Regions from separate parts of the Homo sapiens genome. Here regions 1 and 3 are each linked to region 2. Evidence: promoter capture Hi-C in 16 types of primary human blood cells and fetal thymus (Javierre and others, 2016). All regions are on one chromosome and are shown on one strand. Each heading gives the region's core, a stretch centred on a gene start or on the middle of the fragment in contact. The rest is flanking DNA. Distances are from core to core; before and after follow the strand shown. Region 1 overlaps ERG28 (ergosterol biosynthesis 28 homolog). Region 2 holds the start of JDP2 (Jun dimerization protein 2). Region 3 has its middle 38 kb from the start of FOS.

The links. The method cuts DNA at HindIII sites, captures the fragments that hold promoters and counts their contacts. A CHiCAGO score of 5 or more calls a contact.
Region 1: a fragment that was not itself captured here is called in contact with the fragment with the promoter of JDP2 in region 2 in 1 of 17 cell types (activated CD4 T cells); the score reaches 5.4 in activated CD4 T cells.
Region 3: a fragment that was not itself captured here is called in contact with the fragment with the promoter of JDP2 in region 2 in 1 of 17 cell types (monocytes); the score reaches 5.9 in monocytes.

Annotation. Positions count from the first base shown.
Region 1 is chr14:75,651,605-75,654,908 of GRCh38, forward strand. It overlaps ERG28 (ergosterol biosynthesis 28 homolog), which reads right to left. Exons shown (of 5, transcript NM_007176.4): 3 at 3,282-3,304; 4 at 167-285; 5 at 1-30. Among named protein-coding and RNA genes, the nearest start is that of ERG28, 7.6 kb to the right of the region's middle. The HindIII fragment of the contact is 7,207 bases long and covers 1-3,304 here.
Region 2 is chr14:75,426,648-75,429,874 of GRCh38, forward strand. It overlaps JDP2 (Jun dimerization protein 2), which reads left to right and starts at 1,375. Exons shown (of 4, transcript NM_001135048.2): 1 at 1,375-1,605. It overlaps JDP2-AS1 (JDP2 antisense RNA 1), which reads right to left and starts at 1,008. Exons shown (of 2, transcript NR_184172.1): 1 at 823-1,008; 2 at 1-64. RefSeq lists enhancers at 144-243, 494-823, 844-903, 871-1,428 and silencers at 1,094-1,363, 1,614-1,793, 1,854-2,023. The HindIII fragment of the contact is 6,934 bases long and covers 1-2,795 here.
Region 3 is chr14:75,238,832-75,242,471 of GRCh38, forward strand. No RefSeq gene overlaps it. Among named protein-coding and RNA genes, the nearest start is that of FOS, 38 kb to the right of the region's middle. The HindIII fragment of the contact is 384 bases long and covers 1,240-1,623 here.

The sequences.
Region 1 (3,304 bases), core at 486-2,985, 230 kb after region 2:
GCCCGACCAGCATACCCAGGATGGAGAAACCTTAAATACAGAGGAAAGACTAGTGACTAACATACATACGGTACCTTTCTTCTCTCTCTCTCCTGTGTCCACCCTCTGTACTAGCTCTAGAGCTGGCACAGCTCCTGTAGGAGGTCTAGGGTGGTTGGATGCTTACTTGCCACCATCAGGGGTGCCAGGACGCCAATCGTGGGAGCTGCAGTTCCATAGACAAACAACTCAGAGAGGAAATGCCCCAGGGCAAGGAGGAAGGTCCAGAGTGTGATGTGATAGAGCCTATAAGGAAGCAGACAGAAATGGGAACCAAAGTTACTGTTTGTTCAGAACAGAGGAAAAGTATCAGACTTCATACAGACAAATAAGAACCCAGGATGTCATTAAGACTTAAAAGAAAGGACACTTGTTCCTGAGGAAGAGCTGGTTATTTGATCACAACGATATTCTCATCTAGGGCAAAACTGAAGGTTTCAACTGCTAAACTGAGAGGAGAATGGTTCAGGCATCCAGAATGAACGTCCAGGTCTCAGCAAAGTGGTGAACTCAGCTATAGCAAAGCAGAGCCTGAATGATGACAATCGCAGGCAGTGTAGACAACTTTGGATCCAGCACGCTTACATATTCTATTTATCCAAATTGGTTGACTCTGCAGTCTAATCCCACCTGGCAGGCATCTGGCCATGCACTTGTCGGTGTTTATAAGATGGATGCCACAGAACGAACGGCCTCATGGGGAGTAAGGAGCAAGGACACCTCTGGGGCTTTTAGATGCTCTTGCAATATACGTTGGTTACTTTGTGCCTTAGCCTAGAAAAGTAGTCACATTGAGGACATGGTGACAACCTCATGGGAAAAGAACTTATCTTTCAGCTTTGACTATAAGGTAGAGAAGAGACAGGCTACTAGGTGACTGACCACTTTGTTTGCTGATATCTTTTTAGTATAAAATTTTTTAAAATTATGAAATACTTCAAACATACAAAAAAATTACTGAACACTATAATGAACACCAATGCAACCAACACCCAGCTCCCTCAGATCTTAACATCTTGACATTTTGTTTCAGACTCTTCTAATAAAAACTTACAGAGAAGAGTTAAATCATCCTGTGTATACTTATCCTGCTCTAAGTCTGTTCTCCCTCATCCCCACAAGTAACTGGTATCTTACATTTGATTTGTATCTCTCCTGTGCATATTTTTACACCTTTTTTTTTTTTTTTTTTTTTTTTGAGACAGACTCTTGCTCTGTCTCTCAGGCTGGAGTGCAGTGGCACAATCTTGGCTCACTGCAACCTCCGCCTCTTGGGTCAAGTGATTCTCCTGCCTCAGCCTCCTGGAGTAGCTGGGACTACAGGTGCACACCACCACGCCCAGCTAATTTTTGTATTTTTAGTAGAGATGGGGTTTCGCCATGTTGGCCAAGCTGGTCTCAAACTCCTGATCTCAAGTGATCTGCCCACCTTGGCCTCCCAAAGTGCTGGGATTACAGGCAGAAGCCACCCGCGCCTGGCCCATTGTGGAAACAATATGTATGTGTGTTGACTTTCAGTCTCTAGTTAGGGAGGGAATAGGATCAGAATGCACATCAGAAGTGCATCGATCAAAGTCCTAGGCTAGAAAGGTCTAGAAACAGGAGTCAGCGTTTGCAGCTGTCCTGTGTGGGGAGAGGTGAAAGTAAATGGTAACTGAGGTAAAGATAAGTCTGGGTCAGGCCGGGCACAGTGGCTGAAGCCTGTAATCCCAGCACCTTGGAGGCCAAGGTGGGTGGATCACGAGGTCAGGAGTTCGAGACCAGCCTGGCCAACATGGTGAGAACCTGTCTCTACTAAAAATACAAAAATTAGAGGGGCATGGTGGTGCGCGCCTGTAATCCCAGCTACTGGGGAGGCTGAGGCAGGAGAATGGCTTAAACCCAGGAGGCGGAGGTGGAGGTTGCAGGGAGCTGAGATTGTGCCACTGTACTCCAGCTTGGGTGACAGAGCAAGACTGTCTCAGAAAAAAAAAAAAAAAGAGATAAGTCTGGGTTGTCTTCGCTCACTTCAAAAGCACAACAATCAAAAGATATATCCCTCATACTCATCAGCAATTCTTCATTGTGGTACAGGTCTTTAAAATGATTGTTCAATCCTCCCTTCCTCTTAGTCACCCTGAGAGGTAGAACAGATATCTATTCTCATTTTATGGATGAAGAGGCCAAGGTGCAAGGAAGGTGAATAATGGACTTGCTACTGCAAAGCTAGTTACCAACAGAACTGGGCCCAGAACTAAACACACTGCTTCCAAAAGTATGTGTCATTCTAGGACAAGTAAACTGCAGGTTCAAGTTTGAAAAAAAATTAAAAAAAAAAATAAGGTTGAAGAGATCAAACGGCTAATAGCCCTGCTTCAAATCTCACTTGAGTCAGTCTTTCTTTAAACTAACTGTATCTCTAATATTTAGATGTGCAAAATCAGGAATGAAAATCATGACCTCCAGGGCTGCTAAGAAAAGACTTAATCAAGATCACGTAGATAAAAGCTCAGCATAATAAGAGGGGCTCAATAAATATTATCGCCTCCTGTTTTCCCCAGATGCCAAGAGCCTGGATAAGACAGAAAAACATTTTAATGTGAAGTTGGCATTCAGATAGCCTCCCTCGGTGACCTGAACAAACTGTTTCCACCTAGAGTGTGATGATGACTCCCGCTGGGAAGAAAGCTCGAGCCCCCTCTAGTGGCCAGCACTGGTTATGGCTTCTGATTGCCTGCAATTGTTCCACCCTGGTCTGTTTGAGTACCCAAGACAGGTAGATTCAGGAGCCCTAGCTTCTCTTTCACCCTCACCTGCTGATGCTGCATACACATACAACAGTTTACTTGTGGGTTCCTCTTTTTTCATGGATTGTGATTTCTGTTCATTCCTGCTTCTTAAGGAGGAATGTGAGAAAGGTATGTGTGGGTGGCTACTCTAAAAAGAGCATACCACTCTACTTCTTTAGTAGAAGAAGGGCTGATTCTTTCATAAAGAAGTGGAGGGGCATGATGCAGGCCACTGGATAATGGCCTGCCAGTTTGCTATGTCAGTTCCAAAGAATTTTCAGACTTTAATGAAGACCTGTTAGGTCTACTATGTTTTCTAGGCTTGGAGGGAATGTAACCTGTGAGTTTTTTATTATTCACATTCTAAGCTAATGCATTAAAATGATTAACAGTTCCCATTACTCAAGGTAACAGGTATGCCTCGCATCTGATTTCCAACAAAAGGATGCTAAAGCTCTTCCTTCCCTTACATACGTCTTGTTGTGAATGTCAATGGC
Region 2 (3,227 bases), core at 125-2,624:
TTGGGACTTGGTCTGTCTCTCCTTCCATTAGCCCACTTCTTTTATCCAGAAAGATTTCACTGCACTGGGGAAATAAGGAGAATAAAGTCTCATGCACTCACTCACATGAGAGAGACATGCATGTTCGGGTTTGCTCAATGGCACCCATCTGTCTCAAGTCTTGTTGTTTCTTTCACTCTGAGCATCTGCACTCCAAGAAGGCATGAACTTTTTCTTTCACTTCCTTTCTTCTATGGGTGATGACCTGACATCACTCTCAGAAGGAGGCCGAAAGTCGCTGAGTATAAAAATCGTCACTCCTATCTGGCTTAGGCAGAAGGTAGGGGGCTCGATGGGTACCCAGGAGCTCTGGAGGTAGGAGATGCCATCTAGGGAACCCCGTTCTACCTGAGGGCTCTGTGTCTCTGCCTTTGTATACTGGAGGGCACCATGGATGTCGCCTTCCCTCTGGAGTCCCCTTCACCATTTCCTCTCTAGAAGGATGGAAGGTGGGAGTGGGGTTGGCTATTGAAGCTGGAACGGGGAAGAAGGCCACTTGGGGTCTGCTGAGGGCTGGGTCTGCTCACTGCTGTGTCCGGAGTGGAAAGGAGAAGCCCGCTGGAGCAGGGTACAAGCCCAAGGGTCAAACTGCGCCAGCAGTAGAGCAAGCCGCGGTCTCAGGCTGCAGCCCTAGCAGAGGTCAGGCTGGTGCAGCCAGCCGTCTCGGGGCCTAAGGGCGCTGGCGGGGGCCGGTGGGTAGGGGTAGGAGTCCCCAAATGCCTTCATCTCAGCCCATCCTTCTCCACCGAAAAATAAAGCAGGCTGGCGAGATCGCCTCCTCACCCGCTCAGTCCTGAAGTGTCCAAGGATGAAACTGTGCGGAAATTCTCCCTGTCGCTCTCAGTTTGTGGGGGAAGCGCCGGGACTGAGGTACATGGTTAACACAGGCTGTGCGTGAAGGGGCTTTTGACTTTTCCCCCGGCTCCGGCCTCTCGCGTCTCTCTCCTAGGGCTGCGGCTGCTGCTGCCTGGCGGGCACAAGCCGGGCGGCGGTGCGCGGGGGGTGCGCTTACATAACCGCTCGCCGCGTCCTGCTTTCTCGAGCGCTCCTGCACCGTGGGGTGGCGGAGCCGGGGGACTGCATGGAACCCGGGACGCCCCCGCGGGGAGAGGAGCGCGAGCGGCCGCGGGAGGAGGGCGCCCAAGGCGGCGGGGGAGGTTAAGGTCAGTGGGTGTGAAGCGCCGGCTCCACACCCCCTCCTCCCCGGTCCCCTCCTTCCCTTCCTCTCCGTCCCCCTCTGACGTCTGGAGCTGGCAGCTCGGCCGGTTCCGCATTCCCGACCCCTCCCCGCCGCCCAGGGGCCGCTATATAGCCGGGGCTGATGCAACCCGTCCCGCCGCCCGCCACAGCCTGCGGGAGGGACGCTCGGCGGCCGCGACGGGGGGCGCTGGCGGCGGCGGACGCTGCAGCGGCGGCGGGGCTGGCGCCGCGGCGGCTCCCGGGCCGGGACAGGCCTGGGCACCGGGCGGAGCTCCGCGGCCGGGCGGCAGCGGCGCGGAGCGGGCACGGCGCCTGCAGCCGGGCCCCGGCCCCGGGGGCGCCGCCTCCCCCCGCACCTTCTGCACGGTGGGTGCGAGGGCGCGCGCTGGGGGCGCCGGGACGGGCGGGGCGGGGCAGGGCGCGGCGCGGGCACCTGGGACGGCCGCCCCCGCACGGGCGGAGCGCGAGGAGCCCCAGCCCAGCCCCGCGGGGAGGCTCCCGCAGCCCAGGGACCTCGAGCTTTCCCCGCGCCGGGCGCTGCAGCCGGGCCCCTCCCGCGAGGCGCCCGGCAGCCTGAGGCTTCCTTTTGGTTCCCGCCCCGGGACGGGAGGCTCCGTCCGCTCCCTGGACAGCCGGGGTGCTCCCTCCTTCTCCCTCCCGCGCTCTCCTCCCCCGTCCGTTTGCAGGGAGGTGCTCTCCTCGGGCGGCGGGGAAGGCGGGGTGAGTGGGGAGAAAAGTGCCCGCGGAGATGGGCTGTGCGGGTGGAGGTGGAGGGTGAAGGGCCAGGGAGGTGCGGGGTTGGGGTCGGGGTTAGATTGTGGAGGGATGACAAGGACCTCCTGGCAGTGAGGAAGCGCGACTCCCGGAGGACCCGGACCCGGAGGAGAGTATTGAGAAGGGCTCGGGATTTCCATCCAATGAAGGCAGCTTCTCTCATGGCCATTGCTTCGGAGCTCTGGGCTGGGAGGGGATCTAGGGGTGGCCGGGGTCCCCTTTGGGCTCTCCTGTCTCCCACGCCAGGTTATATAAGGAGGCAAGCAGGCTCCTGTAGGTAACCAGCCTCTCCCTTGCCCAGCCCAGCTTAGAAGGCTCTCCTCTGCTCCTCCCTTCAAAGGAGGTTGTCGAGGGGTAGGGGTGCAGTGGGGGGTGGGAGAGTGTAGGGGTGGATTGGGCCTTCCACCTGGATCCCTGGACCCTGGGATGGCAGAGCCAGGCTTTGCCTGGGTCAGTAGGAGGAGCAGGGAAGATGAGGAGGCTGGGGAAGATGGGGAGGTCCTGGCTCTTTTGCAGGGATGGAGAGGCTGGTGGAAGGAGAAATCAGCCGACCCCCTTGGGTCATCTCCAGTTGCAAGATGGCGTGGCCCTTGCCCAGGGTGCTGCCCTCCCTGTTGGAATCCAGGGCATGGGGCTATGGCCCGACCACGTGTGCTCAGGGCAAATGTGCTCAGGTCTATATCTCAGAAAGGGCTTGCAGCCTGCTTAGGCGTGTGTACCCAGGCTTAAATCTTGGTGGTCTCTCCCTAGGGTCTTAATTGGAGGAGCATCAGGAATTGGGAAGCTTTGAACCATGTTTGGGTACATTTGTACCCAAACGTCCTTTAAGCCCTTGGTAGAAACTGCATTCGCGTATCATCTCCCTTCCCCCCAACCTTCCTTCCCTGAGGGTTTTAAAAAACACTTCCCATTGCTTTTACCTTTCCAGCAAATCTGGCTGCAGCTTGGATGGATAGCTTATCTTCCTTTGCAGGTTTCTAGGGGAGAGTTTAACCAGGTATCAGGTGTGAGCATGGCTCTGATTTTGTATAAACCTGAGGATCGAGGAAGAGAAGCAAAATCTATTCTCACACCTCTGGGTGGTTAAGGTTTTGCCTTGTTTAGAGCAGGGAGGATGGATTTCTCAAAGACTCTTCTGTTCCCTTCTACTTTGGCTTTGGTTCAGAGCTGCAGGCAGCTCCAGAATCTTCCTGAAGAGCTGGGTGCTGTGTGAT
Region 3 (3,640 bases), core at 182-2,681, 190 kb before region 2:
GATGGAGCCCATAAGGCATCACCATGGGAATGAGGACTTGGCATGGACACCTCTTGGCTCGTGGAGACTGCCAGAATGTGAGGCCTGCGGCTGGGGCTCATCTTGCTGATTTGGGCTTCCCGTCACTGGCAGCTCCCACAGCAGGTGGCGTTCCCATAACTAGCAACTTCACTGAGCCACTATTTCTTAGCTGTTCTTTGAAAGACGTTGAAGACCCCTCTCTTCCACTGGCCAAAGCACTTCTAAGGGATTTTGGAGAGAAAAACTTGGGAGCTTTCCATGAAGAAAACAGAAGAATCTGGCAGCCGTTTCCATAGGGCTGAACAGGCACCTTAGAGAATTCCAGTGAAGAGGGCAGCTAAGGGAAGAAGGAAACAGAAACGGACTAGAATCAAAGTCAGGGCTCCTAGGGGCTGGATGGGGAAATGAAGCTAGGAATGGGGAAGGTATAGATGAATCACTGCGTCGCTTATTAATAATTAATTTAGGCAGAATCTTGCTACTCATGTCCTCCCCCCACCATGGCTGGGGGCAGGAGCTCACCATTCTGGCTCTTTAGTGGTCTGCTTGTTGCCTTCCAATGCCACTCCATCATGCTGTCTGTGTCCTTTCTAAAACACAAATCCTGTGATCCCACTGGGTAAGCCTGTTCCATGGCCCTTCATTTCTCTCTCTGGAGAAAACCTAAATGTTTTACCAGGTAGACAAGGCCCTCTGCAACCTGGGACCTGCTTATTTCTCTGGCTCAGCTCAAACTGCAATCCTCTCAACCCTTCACACCAGCCCTCTCCTCCTTCCACTCCTTGGCACATTTTTTTTTTTTTTTGGATACAATGTCTCACTCTGTCACCCAGGCTGGGATGCAGTGCGTGATCTCGACTCACTGTAGCCTCGACTTCCGGGGTTCAAGGGATCCTCCCATCCTCCCACTTTAGCTTCCCCAGTAGCTGGGACCACAGGCATGTGCCACCACGCCTGGCTAATTTTTCCACTTTTTTTTTTTTGTAGAGATGGGGTTTTGCCATATTGCCCAGGCAGGTCTTTAACTCCTGGGCTCAAGTGATCCATGCGTCTCACCCTCCCAAATTGCTGGGATTATGGGCATGAGCTACGGTATCCTGTCCTTGGCACCTTAAAGCTAAATGTGCTGAACTCTCCCATCCTCTGTGTGTTAGCATGCACCATTCCATCTGCCTAGAATGCCCTTCCTGTCACTTTTTTTCCCCTGAAAAATTCCAAAGCTTCTTTCAGGCCTCAACTCAAGCAGGATGTGTTAACTCCTCCACACCTGGATCAGGTCCCTTTCTACTCCATCTTTGCTCACCCTTGCTGCAGTGCTTGAATGCTCTGCAATCTTTCCTGGGGTTCTACAAGACAAGACTGCATTTCATTTTTTTTTTTTGTATTTTTAGTAGAGATGGGGTTTTGTCATGTTGGCCAGGCTGGTCTCAAACTCCTGACCTCAAGTGATCCCTTGCCTCAGCCTCCCAAAGTGCTGGGATTACAGGCATGAGCCACCCGCCCAGCCAAGACTGCATTTCCTTACTGGGCCTACTGCTCAGCCTGCCCAATAAGTTTTTGCCGAATGAATGAATAGGGGAAGAAGCCACATTTTTGAACTAAAGCTTTCTCAAATGTTGTGAGGGATAGGGTTTGTGGGAAATGACAGTGACATTGAAGAGGAAAGGCCAGGTCCTGGGAAGTCTGACCATGAGTAAAACCAGTGGGCCTGCAGTTGTCTGTCTCCAAAGCCTCAAACAGAAGGGCAGAGAATAGACCTGGCCTGTCCTGCCCACAGTTGTATCATGCAGGTAGCACTGTTGAGGATGGAACCATTAGTATGGTACCCATCTCACCATGGTGATCAGCCACCATGGATCAGCATCTTTCCAGCGGTTTTCCCACCATCTATGGCGGGGCCTGCCTTTTCCGCACTCCCATGCCACCACGCATCTGTGGGATAAGAGTAGAGAATTTTTATATGGACCTCCGTGTCCTTCCTGGAAGACAACATGCCTCCATCTATGTCTCCCGCTTGGTCAAGAAACTGCCAAGAAACTGCCAAGCCAGCTGTGATTCTACGAAGACCATCAGAACCTTGCAGCTCCATCCCACGGGCGGGTTGCCCTCTCTGCCCAGGCCACACCCTGGGTGAGGCTGGCCTTAGGGATCTGGGCACAGGAGAGGATTCAACAGGCTGAATGCCTAATACTTGACTGAATTAAACCGAGCCACCTTGGGTCAGGGAATTCAGCTCAGCAATTCTGGTGGTAGCTGACATCAGTATCTTTGAGGAAGTGGAGATAGGATTAAAAGAGACCTCATGCTATAAATCAGGTTCAAATGCATGGAGAGAGACTAATTAAATCCCTGATACTGCCTATATACACAAAGCAATTTTTTACAAGACAGTTAATCACCACTTAATTCATCTGTTTTAATATTTACATCTTCATTTATTAGGCTTTATTAAAGTAGGACCTAGCTTTCCTTTTTTTTTGAGACGGAGTCTCGCTCTGTCGCCCAGGCTGGAGTTCAGTGGCACCATCGGCTCACTGCAAGCTCCGCCTCCCAGGTTCACGCCATTCTCCTACCTCAGCCTCCCGAGTAGCTGGAACTACAGGCGCCTGCCACCACACCCAGCTAATTTTTTTGTATTTTTAGTAGAGACGGGGTTTCACTGTGTTAGCCAGGATGGTCTCAATCTCCTGGCCTCGTGATCCACCTGCCTTGGCCTCCCAAAGTGCTGGGATTACAGGCGTGAACCACCGCGCGTCGTCGGACCTAGCTTTTCTATACTCTGAAGGCATCACTGCCCAAAATATTTTCATTTAATACTGTGTCAAAAACTGCCTACTTATCTTCCAAAGACAGATCTGTGTGTGTGTGTGTGTGTGTGTGTGTGTACATGGACTGTTGTCCTAAGTCCTTTGTCTCCTCTTCTCAGAGTCTGCCCCATGATAACAGAATAATAATGATGTTATTCCAGAATAAACTTGCAATGTGGGGGCTCCGAGTGGTGGCTCATACCTGTAATCCCAGCACTTTGGGAGGCCGAAGTGGGTGGATCACACTTGAGGCTGGGAGTTCCAGACCAGCCTGGCAAACATGGTGAAACCCTGTCTCTACTAATGGTACAAAAACAAAAATTAGCCAGGCATTGTGGTGCATGCTTGTAATCCTTAAGAGGCTGAGGCATGGGAATTGCTTGAACCTGGGAGGCAGAGGTTGCAGTGAGCTGAGATTGAGCCACTGCACTCCAACCTGGGTGGCAGAGCAAGACTCTATCTCAATCAATCAATAAACAAACTTGCAGTGGGAAAGGTGGGTACATAACGGGCATTTTTTTGGGAAACTTTCAGAATTTTATTTTATTTATTTTATTTTTTTTGAGTCTCGCTCTATCGCCCAGGCTGGAGTGCAGTGGTGCGATCTTGGCACACTGCAACCTCTGCCTCCCGGCTTCAAGCGATTCTCCTGCCTCAGCCTCTCGAGTAGCTGGGACTACAGGCGCCTGCCACCACGCTTGGCTAACTTTTGTATTTTTAGTAGAGACGGGGTTTCACCATGTTGGCCAGGCTGGTCTCGAACTCCTGGCCTGAAATGATCCGCCCGCCTTGGCATCCCAAAGTGCTGGGAT